Regions from separate parts of the Homo sapiens genome. Here region 1 is linked to region 2. The links are contacts of gene promoters, found by promoter capture Hi-C in blood cells and fetal thymus (Javierre and others, 2016). All regions are on one chromosome and are shown on one strand. Each heading gives the region's core, a stretch centred on a gene start or on the middle of the fragment in contact. The rest is flanking DNA. Distances are from core to core; before and after follow the strand shown.

The links. Contacts are between HindIII fragments. The CHiCAGO score rates a contact against its expected background, and 5 or more counts as called.
Region 1: a contact is called between a fragment that was not itself captured here and the fragment with the promoter of SMAD2 in region 2, in 1 of 17 cell types (neutrophils). The highest score is 6.4, in neutrophils.

What each region holds. Positions count from the first base shown.
Region 1 is chr18:49,467,045-49,470,133 of GRCh38, forward strand. It overlaps the pseudogene PRR13P4. Among named protein-coding and RNA genes, the nearest start is that of DYM, 7.9 kb to the left of the region's middle. The HindIII fragment of the contact is 6,859 bases long and covers 1-3,089 here.
Region 2 is chr18:47,929,407-47,932,669 of GRCh38, forward strand. SMAD2 (SMAD family member 2) reads right to left here and starts at 1,253. Exons shown (of 11, transcript NM_005901.6): 1 at 955-1,253. LOC124904297 (a long non-coding RNA gene) reads right to left here. Exons shown (of 2, transcript XR_007066360.1): 2 at 2,782-3,263. RefSeq lists silencers at 682-1,211, 1,242-2,171. The HindIII fragment of the contact is 8,478 bases long and covers 1-3,263 here.

The DNA.
Region 1 (3,089 bases), core at 318-2,817, 1.5 Mb after region 2:
GTCTGTGGTATTTTGTTATAGCAGCTCAAAAGGACTAAGACAAGGTACTTATTTATTGTCCCCCATTGTACAGCCGCAACAAGTTAAATACAATTCCCAACATTGCAAAGCTAGCCAGTGGAGGCTCACACACCAGCAGTCTAGCTGCACAGCCCACACTGTCACTCACTGGAAAAGGCTGTCCCAGAGCTCCTTTTGCCAACACTGCCAGTGTTGGAAGACTCACACTTGGCTTCCTCAGAGTTAGCTTGTGTTTCCAGCTAACATGGACTGTAATATCTGACTGTAATACCTGGGTATATTGGTTTACTAGGGTGCCATACCAAAGTACCACAAACAGTGGACATTTATTGTCTCATAGGCCTGGAGGCCAAAAGTCCAAAATCAAGGCATTGTCAGAGTTGGTTCCTTCTGAGGGCTGCGAGGAAGAAACTGTTTCATGCTCTCCCCTACTTTCTGCTGGTCTACTGACAATTCTTGGCATTCCTTGGCTTGTAGAAGGAACACCCTTATATCCACCTTCATCTTCACATGTTCCTCTGTGTGTGTGTTTACATAGAAATTTCCTCTTTATATAAGGACGCCAGTCATATTGGGTTAGGGCCCACCCTGGTGACTTCATTATAACCTAATTCTATCTACAATGTACCTATTTCCAAATAAAGCCTGTTAAATAAAATTTATAGGCGGCCATTGGCTTGGACTGAGCTCCTGCACTAGGCCCAACCAAAATGGAGTCATTCATGCTAAGGTTCCATGTCACCAAATTGAAACTAATTTGTTTATCTGACCATCTGAGAAATGAAGAGAGTGAGGGATAATAGCCAAATCCCCAAAGAAGCCAGTTTTAGCCGGCATGATAAGGAAATCCCCTCTGCTTCAGCCTTAACAAGAAAGTAACTCTGAAACAACCAATCCACTTTTTGTTTTCTGTTTCCGCTTTCCTTAGCCTTTTTCTCTCCATTGGACCAAACTCCTCTGCTCAGCTCTTGGGAACACCCGTTTTATTTTATAGGATGAGGTGTTGCTTGATTCTAGAATTGTAAATAAAAGCAGTTAAGATATTTAAATTTGTTGTAATTTTGTTTTGTTTTTTTTTTCTCGCTCTGTTGCCCAAGCTGGAGTGCAGTGGTGCGATCTGGGCTTACTGCAACCTCCACCTCCCAGGTTCAATCAGTTCTCATGCCTCAGCCTCCTGAGTAGCTGGGATTACAGGCATGAGCTACCACACCCAATCCTAATTTTGTCTTTTGAAAGATCAAATTCTGAGGTACTGGGGGTTAGGACTTGAACAAATGAATTTTGGAGGGACACAATTCAACCCATAACATGAGGTGCAAACACTACTCTAGGCAAGATTTGAAGAAATAGAACTGACCTCGGTGGCCAAGAACAGATTTATTGGTGTCTTTGAACCCAAATAGGTAAAAATTATTTCCATTTACACTAGGTCATATCTTATAGTCTCCCAGAAGCCAGTGGCACGAGCCTGGAAGATTTACAACTCAGGCCAGGCATGTTGGCTCACACCTATAATCCCAGGACTTTGGGAGGCCAGGGTGGGGGGATCACTTGAGCCCAGGAGTTCAAGACCAGCCTGGGCAACACAGCAAGATCCCGTCTCTAAAAACAAACAAACAAATAAAAACACAATACTTGTGACCTACTCTGCACTGCCCATGGTTTTGCAGAGGATGGGGGTCAGGATGTCTAGAGGAAAGAGTATTGAACGGCAATGACTCAAACTTCCAAGCCCTCTTCTAGGTCACCATGTGACTTAGCTGTTTGACAAGATCACTGAAATTGCCCTTTCAAGAGCTACTAAAGTGTCAGGGGAAGAGATTCGAGTAATTTGTTGATTTAGCATTATGGTAATTTCTTATTGTACTGTGTTTTTTTCTGTTTAGTTCCAAAACGTTTAGCAACTGTACCCTCCAAGGCACTGTGGGAGGTGGCAAGATAAAGACAGCACTGTCTACAAGGAGCTCACCATCCTGTGAAAGACACAGCAGGTAGCCAGCTACCTGTAGGGCAAGGTCACCCGGATAAGAAGTGTTGTACAGAGCTTGCAGAAACAAGGGCAAGAGAAGGGGAGGAAGGGAAGGCTTCCTAGAGGTGTGGTACTTCAATGGGGCCAACTCATCACAGGTTATTTTGCCTCCTACAGGTGGCAATGAACCCCCAATAACACATAGCCCTCTTCTGTTAAAGACCACCAGAATACACAACTTCTTAAAAAAGAAAAGCTAAATGAGAGATTCACCAAGGATAGAGGCTTTTCCTTTCACATAATCATCAGAATGGAGCAGAGGAGGGTAAGGAAGACCTTTTACTTTTTGCAATATACAGATATTTCTGAATTATCATTTTTTGAGAGAACATTTAGTGTTCATTCCATAAATATTTAAGTATCGACTCTGAACCAGGCACTGCTATAGGTGCTGGGGATTCAGCCTGTACTATTATTATAATAAAAATTATAATAGAAACACTGAGAATAGATGACAAATGATTAGGCTTTGAAACAGATTGCTTGAGTGTGCATGACTGTCATTGATATTGATTTATTTTCCTTCAGATTGTTTAAAGTCTATCTTGAACGTCAACAATTAAAAAAAAGGCACCATTAAAAAATATCCAAATGAGGGGTCAGGAAGGATTTTTATACTATCTGTATTTTAAAAAATCTTCTACAGAGAACACATCAAGCCCAGGCAGTGGTGGAAAGGTGATGGGGTTGAAGGACACACCTAAACATGTGGAATCCCAATGCCAGGCAGCCAGGGCCAAATCCATATCCCCCCAACATCGGGTACCCTGGAGGTTCCAATCCTGCCCACCCACCACCTGTCAATCTACCCTTTCCCCCAGGCCCCTTTCCTCCTCCCTCAGGAGCTCCCCAGGGCAATCCAGCTTTCCCCCCAGGTGGACGCCCTCATCCTGTGCCACAGCCAGGGTGTCCAACCTTCGGGTCCCTACCTTCCTCCATACCCACCACCTGCCCCTGGAATGCCTCCTGTGAATCCCTTGGCCCCTGGCTTGGTTGGACCAGGAGTGATAGTGGACAAGAAGATGTAGAAGAAAATGAA
Region 2 (3,263 bases), core at 3-2,502:
CACATTTCAAAGACCATTTCTAAAAAGATGTAATTATTCCAAGTTATTTATTTATTAACAATTATTTTACACATGTCGTTTTAAAAGTTTCACAAACCCAAATTTAAGATAGTCCAAATTGCAACAAACAAGACATGACTTTGATGGAAAATGCTGCTTGCAAATTCGTTTTACCTGGAAATTTCTTTTTTAAAGGTATGGTTGACAACACACTGGTGGTATTTTGCTTTTAAAGGGTCAAGAGAAAGGAATAACAAAACCAACCCAGGCATTCTTTTTCTGTTTAGGATCAAAAGGACATTTTAAGGATAAGTAAAAGACAAAAGTACCTGACCCAAAGACAATATCCCCCTCCAAGAGAACAAAGTAAGTTGCAATTTTAAAAACCAAGTTTGAAATACGAGAAATCACTTCGAGGGCTTTCCAAAGGCGTGTGATAAAAACTAATAGGCTCCACCCGCAGAACAACTTTCACAAGTGAGTGAAGGATGATCACAGAGTTATCAGCTGTGTGCGTGTTTGTGAGTACACACAAGCCATGGAAAACCCGAGACTACCACTGTTAACAAAGGTTACGAGACCAAAAAAAAAAAGTGGAGGCAAAGTATTACGCGTCCCTAACAAGGCTTCCCCACAACTCCTGAAACAAGAGCTCTGGCCCTTCGGCTTTAAAAATCAGAACCACAAACTATGGAGTGTGAGAGCAGCGAGGGGAAGGGACGCAGGCAGCCCCCGCCCCCGTCAGCCTGGGCGGCAGCGCAGTGCAACCGAGCCCCGTCCCTTCCCGGCTCTCCGGCCCCGAACCCGCACGCCCGGGCCGGCGCACCCACAGCCCCCGAACTCACCACACCCCAGCCCCCACCCGCAGCGGCCATGTGACACGGCCCATCGCCCCGGCCGCGGACGCACGCAAACACTTCCCTAGCTGGAGGCCCGCGGGCGCCCAGGCTTTACCTGCAAGGTGGCGCCAGGTCCCGCCCCGTCAGATCCGGGGGGTCCGGGACCTTTTGTTCCTTCCTCTTCCGATGGGATGGAGGGGGCTGGGAGGGGAAGAGGGGAATGGGCGATTGGAGGCGGAACTGAAAACACTCCCGGCCGCCGTCTTCCCGCCCCGCCCCCAGGCCCGGGCCCGGCCGGCGGCCCGGGCGCGCGGGAGGGTAGGGGAAGAGAGGGGAGGGGAGGGGAGGAGAGGGAAGGGGAGGGGAGGGAGCCTGGCCGCCGCCCGCGGGGAAGGAGGGGGTGAGGACGCGCGCGCCCGCGCTGCCCCTCCTCCCCTCAGGCGCGCGCCCGCAGCCCTACCGGCCGCCCGCACGGCCGCGCCCTCCCCCGCCAGCCCACCTCCGCTTCCGCCCTCCGCCCTCGGCCGCCGGCCGCCGCGGCGCCACGCACCCACCTCCCGGCGGCTGGCGGGCTGCTGGCTGGCGAGCTGCTTCTCCGCCGCCGCGGCCGCGCGGGTAGACCCGCCTGCCACCCTGGGCCGCGGGCCCCGCCGATTCGCCGGCGCAGCCCCGGGGCTGGCACCCTGCCGCCCGCTGATTGGCGCCTCCAGCCGCCCGTTAGGGCGCGAGGCACGCCGGCCGAAAGCCGCGCGGGGCGGGTATGGAAGACGGAGGGAGCGGAGGAGGAAAGGAACGAGGCCGAGCACCGCGGGAAGGGCCGGGGGGCGAGCGGGGCGCGGGGAGTCGCCGGCCACCGCCTCCCCACCTCCCTTTGCCTACGGCCCGCCCCGCCTCCCGGCCGGACCGGCGGCGCCCGCAGCCAATCAGCACGAGGGAAGCTCGGGGTGTGAGCCGCGCATCGGGGGCCTCGAATCGGAAGGGAGACGTCGCTCGCTGATTGGTCCCGCCTCCCCAGTCTAGCGTGAGGCGAGGCGGGGCGCGGCCGGGCGGGGCGGGACGCCCGCGGTTTCGCTTGAGTTGGGCGCCGGCGCGCTCCCACCGGGGCTCACGGGCGGAGAGGGAGAGGCCCGCGCCTTGCCGCGCATTAAGACGATTCCCGGTGACCGCCCGATCCCTCGCCAGCGTCGTGGGTGGGGCCTGTAGGGGCCTGCCGCCTCGTCCACCGTCCGTCGTGAGGCCGGCAGCGGACACGTGCTCATCCCACGGGGAGGCCCCGCGCAGCGCGGAGGACGCGCCTGAGAGAGAAAAGGGGTTCGGGAGAAGCCCGAGGACCCGGCCCGTGACTGGGCGCGCCCTATGCAAATGAGCGGGCGGGGCCCTCGTGTTGCTGAACGAGGGCGGGTTCGCGATGTAAATAAGCCCAGAGGTGGGGTCTTTGGAGAGCACTTAGGGCCCGGGTAGGGGATGCCAGGTATAAGTGTTTAACCTAAATTTTGGTTCCGTCTTCAGTAAAAATGATATCAATAATCCATGTCCCGAAGGGTCTTTGTGAAGTCTAAAAGAAACATCTGTCACGATGTCCCTTAATGGCTGGGATATCTTCCCTTCCCCTTTTCTCCACTGTTGCGACGATTAGGCCCCAACTTGCACATCTGCCCTACAGGAGGCAGCAAGGCCCTAAACTTACGGCTGCCCAGAACATAACTGCACCCAGGGAAAACCTTGTTGCGGTTACCCTTAGGAACACCCAAGCCTCTGCTGACAAAATATTGAGCCCAACTAATCACATCAGGTGTTTACTATGCACCCACTGTGACACAGGCAGGGAGTACCGTAGAACTAAAGTTGAAAAGAAACTTAGGTTTCACACAGGTGCCAGAGACAAGACTAGAACACAGTTTTTTTTTGGCTGCCTGTCCAGTAATTCATTCTCATGTGTGGCTTAGTTTATAGATTTAATTGGGGACTTCAAATAAGCGGGAAAGAAGCACTAGCAATACAAATCGGTAATCAGGAAGTACCAAATGAGCACTCCAAACAGTAAGAGTTTTTGAAGTATACGCTTTCTTCTGAGAAATGAACGTGTCCCAGAGGAGGGTGCCTTCAGATGGACCTTAAGAGAGATGTGGCCATCCCCTGAGTCATACAAGTTTTCCAGATGTCCTTTCAAAATCTCTGTCCTTTCCACCGTCTCTGTCCTCACACATAGAGGAACTTTTCTCACGGGAAGGTTGCGATGAAGAGCATAAACCCAGGAGTCAGGCACGTTGTAGCTTTGAGTACGACTCTGTTCCAGATCTGTAATCTTTGGCAAATGGAACTCACCTGCAACGATACCTACTTAAATATAGTTGTGTGATGATTAAATAATAAATATGAAAGTAAATAACATAGGGCTTTGAAGTTCAAGGAAAGTCAGTGATC